Linked DNA regions of Homo sapiens: region 2 is linked to region 1. The links are contacts of gene promoters, found by promoter capture Hi-C in human tissues and cell types (Jung and others, 2019). All regions are on one chromosome and are shown on one strand. Each heading gives the region's core, a stretch centred on a gene start or on the middle of the fragment in contact. The rest is flanking DNA. Distances are from core to core; before and after follow the strand shown.

Region 1 (6,600 bases), core at 3,552-6,051:
CCTCCCCAAAACCTAACACTGCAGACTGGGAAGACTTGAGGAGCCCTGGGGGAAGAAACAGTAATATTAGTAGTTAACTTTGAGCACTCAGGATGTGTCTGTCTCTATGCAAAGTGCTTTAGGTGAACCATCTCACTTTGGCCTCAAAGCAACCCTGTACAATTACTATTGCTATTTTACGCAAAGGTCAGTTGCTCATCCAAGGTTGTACTAGGTAAACCCCAGGGAAATTTGATTCTAGAGAATCTTGTATTTACGAATAGAGTGTCCAGGCTCTATACCTTAAGCCATGATAACTGGATTCAGGGAGTCAGGTGGGGAAAGATCATTAGGGGCCTCAGAGACTGTGCCGCAAGAGGTATACATGCCCCCTGGCTGCAAAGAGACAGGGGGTCCTGCAGAGGCCACGCTAAACTACACACAAAAGGTCAAATGTCCAGAACATCTCCTCCTACTCAAAGGAGAAACCTTGGGGTTACTCAATAATTTCTTCAAAGGCAGGTTTGGACCAAAATCTAAGAAGAGATCACTGAGGCTTGCCACTACTTGAGGAGGAGAAATGAAATGTCCATTCTTGCCCCCAGACCAGCCTTGCAGTTCCAGTCGAACTCCCACAAGAAAAGAGGAATTCAATTTCCCTAGAAAGACTTCCGACTGAGTCAGATTGATGCAGACCCTCCAAAAACACGCCAGGAGGGCTTACAATCCTGGTAGTCCACCAAATGGCCCTCGCCTGTAACAGTTGATCTATACTAGGACCAAACCACCGGCCACCCTCCACCCCATAACAGTTATGAATATGTAAGCCCCCACATGCCAAAGATTTCAACATGAGCCCAATGGTTTCACCAGTACCCACCTCTTTTCCTACCAGTTCTTACACAGTGAATGCTCAAAAACAAGTGTGGCTGACACAGGGTGGAAAGGGGCAAGCTAAACAATTGCTAAGCACGTCTATTACGGTGGTTGAACTATCCATGGCATTTCAAAACCTCAACTGCTAAACAATTTAGCCAGATCACTATCTGAAACTTTCTAATGAGCTGAGTTAAAGCTATTAGGTTTCACCTAACCAAAAAAAAAAAAAAAAAAAAAAAAAGGATGGTTATTTGTTTTGGGTCATGAGCCCAGAGGTTAATGTAGGATAGCACAGTGATCAAGAGAACAGACTCTGGAGACAGCCCACTTTGACTGGCTCCTGACACTGGCACTTCCTTGCTGTGACTTTATGCAAATCACTTGACCTTTCGTTGCTTCAGTTTTCCCATCTTCAAAATGGGCATAATCATGGAAGTCCACACTCCCTAATCCAAATTCTGAGCAGCCAGCCAACTGTGATTCAGAAGCTTTATGGATTTTGTAATGGTAAAAATGCATATGCCATATCTTACATAACACTTTCAATGGTATCTGCAGCAAATAAAATATGCCCATAATTTCTGAAGTAAAAATATATGTGTAGTTCTCACCAAGTGAGAAAAATAAAGACTGTCATAACCTCACGTCACTTCAGACCAAGTTTTGTAGCCAAATTTATGAAAATCACAGTTTTTAGAGCTTTTTTGATTTTGGAAATACAGCTAAAGGATAAGATCTCTCACATTGACTGAGTAATATATAAAAATTAAATGCGTTAATTGATAAAAGTTCTTGGAGTGGTGCCTGGCATGTAGTAAGCACCATAGTGTTACCAACAACAACTTCTATTATTTTCATGTAAAATTTGGAAACTTTAAAGTTATGACTAAATTTCATTTGGAAACCAGTACACTTTGGAGATTAATAGGAATTACCCCTTTGAAACAATCCTCTAGGGAAGGATTTTCTGAGATGATGAAAATGTTCTATATCTGCACTGTCCAATACAGTAGCCACTAGCTGCATGTAGCTATCAAGCACTTGAAATATGGGTGGTTAATTTCATTTAACTAATTTCAATTCAAATGTAAATAGCCATATGTGGCTAGTGACTACCATGTTGGACAATGTAGCCTCCGAGGGCTTGGTTCCCAATCTGGCCCACGAAAATCTATTTAAGCCATAACACAGATGAATTATAGCCTCGGTAAAAACCCTGCATTCTGCATCCAGGGAGCAGAGAGGAACACATGATGCTAGAGAGAGTTCTGCCCTTCTTTGTAGGCCACATGGTTGGCCTATAACAAAATGCATCTTTGATATCGTCTTCCTCTCTTTCTCCATTCCCTACTCCTCCATCTCCAACTCTCCTCTTTGGGCCTTACATAACTAAATCACATGCTTCCCTAAAACCCTATCAGAACCTTCCACCCCTCTTCCAGAAGCACCATGTTTCCTAATCACCTGTCTTCCCTCGCCTCAACCAAACCCCTACTTGCTCAATGCCACAGATCTCAACTGAACGTTGGGAGGAAAGCAACTTCAGCAAACAAATTCACACTCTTAGCTGCTTCTACTGTTTTTGGCTTTTCCTCTGCTTCTCCTTCTGAACCCAGAAGCTCTGTTTTATTGTTCTTCCACCGCAGAAGTAGTTCCGGCAGAGAGAGAAGGCATTAAGACTAAAGCAACTGTCCTATATAGGCGCCTGTCAGCCAGGTGTGTGGAACACACACGCGCGCGCACACACACACACACACACGTGCAGCAAGCCTCACTCTGTGCAAATCCCTCCTCTTGCCCAGGCATGGGAAACGTCCCCTGCTGTCTACTTTAGAAAACTCTTCCACCATGCACAGTATTTTTTCAATCTTCTTTTATTCATTTAGAAAGTTACAGGTAACAAATTGCACATCAAACAGTTTTTTTAAAGTATACAACAAAAGCCCAGAGAAGAATGTGACTAAGAATGGTTGTAAATAGAAAAACAAAACCAACCGCCTTCATTGGAATCTAGCTTCTAACCCACTGGAGTATGGAATTTTTAATGACAGGTCAAACTTGGACCACATCCCAGGAGTTTATGTTACTAAGAGGACTGGAAGAATGTCCCTCCAGTTCAATCTGGCTTCTTACCTGGTAAGACATGGCTCCTGGGTATAAAGGGAATTTCCCCCATGGGGCTGTAAATAAAGGATAGTGTTAATGGTAAACATTATACATTCCTCTAGCTCCTTTCAATTATATTATCTCCTTCTCCAAAGTAGATATTTATGTTGTAAAACCAAAGTCTTAAGATTTAATACTGGCCCACAATTATCTCTAGAGTCTTCTAGGTGCAAGCATTTTGCCATGAAAGCCACAGCAAATGCCTTCAGTAGGGAAAATGAGACATCTACATAAATAACTCCCAGAAGGTAGAGAGCAGAAAGGGCCCTGGAGAAAAAATGCTGCAGAAATCAGAGCAGGGGGAGGTTGGCTGTTTCAGGAAAAGCCTCACACCACCAGCAAAACACAGTTTGAAGGATGGTTAGACTTTAGAGTGGTGGATGTGGGGGAAGATGTGCCATCAGATGGTCTAGATGACAACACCATCAGACATTCTTCAGAAAAGTATTTATGAAGACATCGATGCATACAATAACCTAGAGATAGTCCACCTCTCTCCTCAATGACAACTGGGCACCTGTACAAGCACCTATGGGGTCACCTGCTTCCACCTCCCAAGTCAGGCTCTCAAAAATTCTCCCTAGTGGGGTCAAGCATTCTTGGCCTCAGTAGTGCCCATTCTGTGGCAGCGGCCCTGCCCTACCTCTACGGGGGGTATAAGAAACATGAAAACATACCAATCCTGCAGAGATCTAAAAGACCTACGGGCAAATTTTGCATAATGCAACTGAAATTATGACCTTCGTGCAAATAAAACTTTTCGAAGACGTGAATCCTACTTAACAGGTATTCAGGGAACTCACTATTTAAAATGACACTGATTAATCACTAAATGAGTCTTACACTGAATAATTGGTTAAGTCGGCTGAACTCAGTGTCTGATGGCTTAAATACAGAGCGAGGGGCGAAAGCTTCCACAAATTTACGCTGTGCACCTAACATTCGCCACGACAGAAGACTTCTTGCTCTAGTGTATTTATTACTGTAGCATTAAAGGACTTGAAGGCAAAGCTAGCTATTCTAGTTATCAGTTAGAGCGGGACCTGGTCCAATATTGTATTTTCTAGGACTTGATGTACACAAATCTCTCCAGGAACAATCTCTTGAGCACTTTCCTTGAAATACCGCTGCTAAGTACCGCCACAAAAAGAGCTTACGTTTTTCTTTGCACTGGCCACCTCCACACCGTATTCACAACACGAAGGGGCGACCTGAGGCAGGCGTCTGGAGTGAAGGCACTGGCAGGGTGTCCTTTAGCCCCTGCGAGGGCGGCCTGCATGCCCTGGAGGACCGCCCGCCTCGGGTCCCCCGGGAGCGCGAGGACACTTTTCCGCCAGGTACGCGGAGTCGGGCTGCTCCCTTAGGCGGGTCGACTGCCTTGGGAGAGAACCAGCCCATCCTTCCCTTTCTCCAGTCCTCAGGAACCGAGCTACAGAGTCGCTTCCTCACCTCTTGGCTCCTGGCGAGTCTCGCCGGCGTCCCCAAGCGCAGCGTCCCTCTGGGACCAGCCGTCCGCGCGCCTGTCGCTAGCGGCGTCGGGTGTCCCCGCTACTGTGTGTCAGCTGCAGAGCCGATGCCCAGGAACGCGCAGGAGCCAGGCAAGTGCCCGAGAGGCAGAGCCCGGGAGGCAGAGCCCGGGAGGTAGAGCCCGGGCGCGCCGCCGCTGCCCCTCCCGCCGCGCGAGCCCGCCGCCCGCCGCGTTGCCCACGTTGCCCAGCGTTACCGTGTGGACCCGCGCCGTTCACAGTCCGCTCCCGCCGAGATGTGCGCGCTGCCCGGACAGCGGCGGCTGCGCGGGCGGCAGCGGGGCCCCCGCCCTGGGCCGGGCTTTCCCAGAACTCGCCCGCCCCGGGTGAGAGGCCGCTAGCGCCACCGCGGGCGGCCGGGCGGGGGAGCGGCCTGTGCCGGGCCCGCCCCCGGCTCCTGCCGCGCGGGGAAGGCGGGCGCGGAGCGAGGACCCGGCCGCCTCCCCCGGAGCTGGCTGCTGGCGGCGCGACCCCTTCCCAGACCCCTGGCCCTGACCCCTAGGAGCCATCCTTTCTGGCGGGAGCCAGAGAGAGCGCTCCTGGGGCGCCCGGCTCCGGGAAGGGCGGGAACTCTGCACACCTCAGGCGGCGGGAATTTACTCTCACACTACCCCAGGGAACCACCCCTGGTTGACAGATATGGAAACTGAGGTTCACGGCAGATAAAGGACACGATCAAGGTCTCTGTAGTAGATGGCAGCACCAAGTCTCGAATCTGTTCTGTCACTCGTTCATTTAATACATATTCATTGAGCCCCATCAATGTGCCCAGCGTTGTGCCAGGCTCCGGAAATACTCCTTTTGCTGGTAATGGTGGCCATCCAGGACTGCGGACTCCAAATCCAGTACTCTTTCATTGCTCAAGCAAACCTGAAGATCTTCACAACTAGAAACTACAGGCTTTGCACAGAACTTCCTTAGCCGCTGGAGCGGCTTTTATGAGTCTTAGGAGAGCCAAGGACCTGGAAAAAAAAATCAAATCATCATCCTCCTCCCTTTCGCCTAAACCTGTGCCTCCTCCCTCTACCTGTTCTAATGGAAGACCGTTCCCTAGGCCTGACCTCTTCTCCTACATCCGATCAGGACCCATTCCTGTGGCCCATATCGCCTCCCACTGTCCTCTCCCTTGGACCAAATCAATCCTTCAAACCACCGCTGTATTATTCTTCCTTTTTTACAACTTTAATCTATGCAGAAAACTTCACTGGCTCCCTATTGCCCTCCAAACTAACTCTCCATGGCTGTGTAACCCAGCATGCCCTGGCTAATAAGGATCACCCAACAGAATGTCTCTCCCACTCTAGCTCTGTACCTGAACTTAAGCTGAGCCTTCTACCTGGAGCATCTCCTCCCACACACTTTCCTCCTGCTCATGTTTGACCCTTTCTTTCGGGTCCCTCTTAAAAGTGATCTCTCCTTCTTGGAGGCTCCAGAACACAGGAGAGGTTGGAGCAAGAAAGCACAGGAGGCCCAAAGAATCCTGCTGTTAAGAAAAATCTGCCAGTCTGGTCCTTAAACTGTCTTGCTGTTTTCTCACCACTAGGACTTTAATGAAAACTAACATGATTGCCTCCCTGGAGAGCTGATTTCAGAAAGGTCTCTGCAGAGGGCTCTAAAGAAATTCTTTGTTCCTTAAGATCTTGGCATTTTAGCACTAGGACAGTGAGAAGTGGTAATTTACTCAATCCCTGAGGCTATGTTATCCTGAACAAGTAAATAAAGGGCTGAGGAAAGAGGTAGCATCACTGACAATAAACAAGGTAGGCTATTTATTTAATATACAGTATTATATTATGGTTTTATAATTCATTTAATGATCAAATAATATCAAACTTCATCCATCACCTGGCACCCCCAAAGACTTTTTTTTTTTAATTTGGCACATGGGAATAGATAGCTACAAACTGGTAGATGCACAAGCAGTTAACATTGAATCCTCCAAATGAGTCATTGCATGATTAGTAAGCAAGGCAAATCTAGGTCCGTTGAGCAGGAAAGTTATCCAAGTGTGATAATCACTGTGGCCCCATCCCTAGAAAGGGGCGCCTTC
Region 2 (6,492 bases), core at 3,318-5,817, 36 kb after region 1:
TTATCTCTGTATCTCCAGGACCTGGTATCATACTTGGCTTATAGCAGGTGTGATGGTTAACAGTAAGTGTCAACTTGATTGGATGGAGGGATACAAAGTATTAATCCTGGGTGTGCCTGTTTTGGTGTTGCCAAAAGAGATTAACATTTGAATCAGTGGGCCCTTAAACTGGTGGGCACAATCTAATCAGCTTCCAACGAATATAAAGCAGGCAGAAAAACGTGAAAAGAAGACACGGGTCTAGCCTCCCAGCCTACATCTTTCTCCCCTGCTGGATGCTTCCTGCCCTTGAACATCGGACTCCAAGTTCTTCAGTTTTGGGACTCGGACTGGCTCTCCTTGCTCCTCAGTTTGCAGACAGCCTATTGTGGGGCCTTGTGATTGTGTGAGTTAATACTTAATAAACTTTTATATATATATGTACATATATTTATATATATTGTGTATATATATGTATATATATTATATATATAGTATATATATGTATATATTATATATATAGTATATATGTATATATACTATATATATAGTATATATATGTGTATATATTATATATATAGTATATATATATGTATATATATATATATATCTCCTATTCGTTCTGTCCCTCTAAGAGAACCCTGACTAATACAGCAGGCATTTCATCCATTCAGAAATATTCACTGGGCATCTCCTGTGTGCCAGGTACAGTGTAAGGTGCTGCAGGTAAATAGCATTATAGTGCTTGCTGAATGAACAGTCTCTGATATAGTTTTGATATTCCCCCCCCCAAATATCACATCAAAATATGATCCCCAATGTTGGAGGTGGGGCCTTATCAGACTGGCAACCATCACCACCAGTCAGAGGCTTATTAGACTGGCAATTCTCAAACTCTATACCAGAGAAAAACGGGAACTTTTTAAAAGCACAGATTGTAGGGCCCTCACCCCAGACTTAAATAAAAATTGGGGGGACTGGAGCACATGAGTTTGGATTAAATTACAAGTGCCCCAGATGATTCTGATGTATGGGATCCACTACTCAGAAAAGAAATCCTGGCCGGGTTGGGCGATTAACAGGCGGTGGCTAGGGAGGACGGAGAGGGGGCGTTTGCTCCTCTGGGACTTTTCATGCCTCGTTTTTTTTTTCAGATGTGGCTTGGTCTGGACGCAAGGTCCCAGCAGCCAGCTTAAGCTTACTCTTCTGTGAAAGGGGAAAGTATCCCCTGTGGAAAGCAGTTAAACTTGTGGAGGGGGTGCGAGACGTGAGTTCTCCCCCATGCCAGGCGAATGGTGTGGACTTGAGCTGGTCCAGCAGCCGGCTCGACTTGTCTGAGGGAGCCCTGGAGGGGGCGGGGAGGGGGCCCACAGAACGTGGGTTCTATAAAGAGACATTGGGAAGATTCGATTCCGAGAAGAGGAAGAGCCGGATTGAAAGAGAGCCAGGCCCTTGAGGGGGAGGGGGCTGCCAAGATGGCGTCGGCCTCCTCCGGGCCGTTGTCTTCGGTCGGTTTTTCTCCGTTGATCCCGCGGTCCCTTCCTGTACCTCGTCCTCAGCATCTGGAATCAAGAGTCCCATGGCATCTGAGGTGCCTTATGCCTCTGGCATGCCCATCAAGAAAATAGGCCATAGAAGTGTTGATTCCTCAGGAGGGACAACCTCATCAGCCTTGAAAGGTGCCATCCAGTTAGGCATTACCCACACTGTGGGGAGCCTGAGTACCAAACCAGAGAGTGATGTCCTCATGCAAGATTTCCACATGGTGGAGAGTATCTTCTTTCCCAGTGAAGGGAGCAACCTGACCCCTGCTCATCACTACAATGCCTTTCGTTTCAAGACCTATGCACCTGTTGCCTTCCGCTACTTCTGGGAGCTATTTGGTATCCGGCCCGATGATTACTTGTATTCCCTCTGCAGTGAGCCGCTGATTGAACTCTGTAGCTCTGGAGCTAGTGGTTCCCTGTTCTATGTGTCCAGCGACGATGAGTTCATTGTTAAGACAGTCCGACATAAAGAAGCGGAGTTTCTGCAGAAGCTGCTTCCAGGATACTACATAAACCTCAACCAGAACCCTCGGACTTTGCTGCCTAAATTCTATGGACTGTACTGTGTGCAGACAGGTGGCAAGAACATTCGGATTGTGGTGATGAACAATCTTTTACCAAGATCGGTAAAAATGCATATCAAATATGACCTCAAAGGCTCAACCTACAGGCGGCGGGCTTCCCAGAAAGAGCGAGAGAAGCCTCTTCCCACATTTAAAGACCTAGACTTCTTACAAGACATCCCTGATGGTCTTTTTTTGGATGCTGACGTGCACAACGCTCTCTGTAAGACCCTGCAGCGTGACTGTTTGGTGCTGCAGAGCTTCAAGATAATGGATTATAGCCTCTTGATGTCAATCCATAATATAGATCATGCACAACGAGAGCCCTTAAGCAGCGAAACACAATACTCAGTTGATACTCGAAGACCAGCCCCCCAAAAGGCTCTGTATTCCACAGCCATGGAATCCATCCAGGGAGAGGCTCGACGGGGTGGCACCATGGAGACCGATGACCATATGGGTGGCATCCCTGCCCGGAATAGTAAAGGGGAAAGGCTTCTGCTTTATATTGGCATCATTGACATTCTACAGTCTTACAGGTTTGTTAAGAAGTTGGAGCACTCTTGGAAAGCCCTGATACATGACGGAGACACTGTCTCAGTGCATCGCCCAGGCTTCTATGCTGAATGGTTCCAGCGCTTCATGTGCAACACGGTATTTAAGAAGATTCCCTTGAAGCCTTCTCCTTCCAAAAAACTTCGGTCTGGCTCATCTTTCTCTCAGCGAGCAGGCTCCAGTGGCAACTCCTGCATTACTTACCAGCCATTGGTCTCTGGGGAACACAAGGCACAAGTGACAACAAAGGCGGAAGTGGAGCCAGGTGTTCACCTTGGTTGTCCTGATGTTTTACCTCAGACTCCACCTTTGGAGGAAATCAGTGAGGGCTCACCTACTCCTGACCCCAGTTTCTCACCTCTAGTTGAAGAGACTTTGCAAATGCTAACTACAAGTGTGGACAACAGTGAGTATATGGGGAATGGAGACTTCTTACCCACCCGGCTGCAGGCCCAGCAGGATGCTGTCAACACAGTTTGTCATTCAAAGACCCGCAGCAACCCTGAGAACAACGTGGGCCTTATCACACTGGATAATGACTGTGAAGTGCTGACCACACTCACCCCAGACACTGGCCGTATCCTGTCCAAGCTACATACTGTCCAACCCAAGGGCAAGATCACCTTCTGCATGGGCATCCACGTGGCCCATCTGGCTCTGAAGCACCGACAAGGCAACAATCACAAGATCCGCATCATTGCCTTTGTGGGAAACCCGGTGGAGGACAATGAGAAGAATCTGGTGAAACTGGCTAAATGCCTCAAGAAGGAGAAAGTAAATGTTGACATTATCAATTTTGGGGAAGAGGAGGTGAACACAGAAAAGCTGACAGCCTTTGTAAACACGTTGAATGGCAAAGATGGAACCGGTTCTCATCTGGTGACAGTGCCTCCTGGGCCCAGTTTGGCTGATGCTCTCATCAGTTTTCCGATTTTGGCTGGTGAAGGTGGTGCCATGATGGGTCTTGGTGCCAGTGACTTTGAATTTGGAGTAGATCCCAGTGCTGATCCTGAGCTGGCCTTGGTCCTTCGTGTATTTATGGAAGAGCAGCGGCAGCGGCAGGAGGAGGAGGCCCGGCAGGCAGCTGCAGCTTCTGCTGCTGAGGCCGGGATTGCTACGACTGGGACTGAAGACTCAGACGATGCCCTGCTGAAGATGACCATCAGCCAGCAAGAGTTTGGCCACACTGGGCTTCCTGACCTAAGCAGTATGACTGAGGAAGAGAAGATTGTTTGTGCCATGCAGATGTCCCTGCAGGGAGCAGAGTTTGGCCTGGCAGAATCAGCAGACATTGATGCCAGCTCAGCCATGGACACATCTGAGCCAGCCAAGGAGGAGGATGATTACGACGTGATGCAAGACCCTGAGTTCCTTCAGAGTGTCCTAGAGAACCTCCCAGGTGTGGATCCCAACAATGAAGCCATTCGAAATGCTGTGGGCTCCCTGGCCTCCCAGGCCACCAAGGACAGCAAGAAGGACAAGAAGGAGGAAGACAAGAAGTGAGACTGGAGGGAAAGGGTAGCTGAGCCTGCTCAGGGGACTGCATGGGAAGCACGGAATATAGGGTTAGATGTGTGTTATCTGTAATCATTATAGCCTAAATAAAGCTTGGCAAGATTTTTTCCTTCTTTGCTTCAAAAAAAAAAGAAAGAAAGAAAGAAAGAAAGAAAGAAAGAAAGAAAGAAAGAAAGAAAGAAAGAAAGAAAAGAAAAGAAAAGAAAAGAAATCCTGATGCCTAAATCTGACCCCTTGAAATGCTGATGAGCTTCATCTGAGCTGTGTGATCTCTCATGTGCAGCTAAGGTTGAGAACCACTAACATAAAATAATTCACATTAAAATCACCAGGAAGCTTTAATAACATTTCAAATACTTGGACCCAACCCCTAAAGATTCTAATTTAATTGGCCTGGGACTCAGGTACTGATATTTTTCAAAAGCTCACAAGGTAATTCTGAAATTCAGCAAAAGTTGAGAACCACTATTCAGACTAAGTGACTTGTCCAATGTCTCTGGGTGCATCAGACTTTACGGCCTTCCTTACACAGGGGTTGTGAATGAAATATGGCTATGGAAAGCAATTGTTGAGTAATATGTTATAAAGTATGGTGGTGATGATGATGATGACAATGATGACAATATTTCTTGAGTGCGTCCTATGCACCAGGCACTATGCTAAGCATTTTATGAGCTTAATCTTATTGAATCTTCAACATTAGCCTGCTGGTATTATTTTCCCTTTTCCTTGATTATAATATGTCATCAGTTGAGGATGACAATTTAATAACAGTTATTAGAGGCTGTTGCTTGTTAATAGGAAAATATTTATTCAGTCCTCCAGAGACAAAGATTTGCTTTGATCAGAATAAATGTAAATTTTGATTTATTTAACATGAAATGCAAATAAACATGTGTGCTGCTATCAATGCAAATCACTCATCCCATGTGATATCAAATAAGCAGATACCTTCTATGTAGCCCTCCAAGTTCACCTACATTCACAAATGTTACTTATATCTCATACTGGGGTATCCATACTGGGCCTGGAAGCTGGCAAGTTTATTTAGACACATTCCATTTCAGGAATAATAAAATGCAGGGAAAATGTGTATCTTTGAGTCACAGAATCATGGTATTATTCTTATTTTCAGGTGAGACTTTAAAAGATTAAGTGACTTGCCTATAGTCCCAGGGTTCATTCTACAGCCAAGCCAGAAATAACAACCCAGTGCCCCTGATGCTGGAATTCTCCAGAAGCTCCTCTACTGACATAGTTTCCACTGACAAACTTTCCTTGACAAGAATAAAGTAGTCTGTCAGAACAAAATTTTGCCAGCTCTGTCTACTGCCAGCACTTGGAAATAGGAGTCCCATGGGGTTTGCAAACAAATGAAAGCAGTGGTGGGCTTGCAAGACCTCACCAGTCCTTAGAGTTCAGTTGATATGTCTCTCAATACAATGCAGGAACTAATTTTAAAGCATTTTGAAACAAGCACAATAACTGAAAATTCTGAGTTCAACAAGAAACAAATGCATTTAATCTTTGAAGAAAAATCAAGTCAATTAAGAAATGAAAATAGGTTGAGACTAGACGAATAAGAATGGAAATGATCGATTGGAGAAGTTTTCAGCCTTGAACAGGCCATTACCAAGTGGTCAGTATGACCACATTTATCTGATATTATTTGGTCCTTTTCTTTCTTTTAAAAGTACTATTTAGTTATAAGAATCTTAAATGCTGGCTGGTGCAGTGGCTCATGCCTGTAATCTCAGCACTTAGGGAGACTGAGGCTGGAGGATCGCTTGAGCTCAGGAGTTTGAAACCAACCTGGGCAACATGGTGAGACCTTATCTCTACCAAAAGTAAAAAAAAATAGTTGGACATCGTGGCATGAGCCTGTAGTCCCAGCTACTTGGGAGGCTGAGGTGGGAGGATCACTTGAGCCTGGCAGATGGAGGCTGTGGTGAACTGTGATCTTGCCAAGACCGTGTCTCAAAAAAAAGAAAGAAAGAAAGAAAGAAAGAAAGAAAGAAAGAAAGAAAGAAAGAAAGAAAGAAAGAAAGAAAGAAAAGAAAAAAGAAAATTAAACACCACTTTTTAAAAAAAAGCAACAAAGAAAATTTGGACATTAAGAGAATAAACATTCCCATTAATCCCATCTCCACTCTCCTAAGAGATCATCAGTTTAGTGCCTGCTTTTCCAAAAATATATGTCAAAAATGATTTCTCTTTCTTAAAGAGAAAGTATATATCTATAGTCTTAACTTTCCTTTTTTTTCCAACTATATAAATATAGTGGCCACCATACATTATTTTAAGCAGAAGGTAAATTAAACGATCCACTGCGA

The links. Contacts are between HindIII fragments. The study calls those that stand out against the background at their distance.
Region 2: a fragment that was not itself captured here is called in contact with the fragment with the promoter of PLCE1 in region 1 in 3 of the 25 tissues and cell types used here (mesenchymal stem cells, mesendoderm cells and thymus).

Annotation. Positions count from the first base shown.
Region 1 is chr10:93,992,132-93,998,731 of GRCh38, reverse strand. It overlaps PLCE1 (phospholipase C epsilon 1), which reads right to left and starts at 4,801. Exons shown (of 33, transcript NM_016341.4): 1 at 4,474-4,801. LOC105378438 (a long non-coding RNA gene) reads right to left here. Exons shown (of 4, transcript XR_946215.2): 4 at 5,013-5,512. RefSeq lists a silencer at 4,698-4,987. The HindIII fragment of the contact is 15,571 bases long and covers 2,642-6,600 here.
Region 2 is chr10:93,956,463-93,962,954 of GRCh38, reverse strand. It overlaps the pseudogene PIPSL. Among named protein-coding and RNA genes, the nearest start is that of PLCE1, 34 kb to the left of the region's middle. The HindIII fragment of the contact is 3,706 bases long and covers 2,715-6,420 here.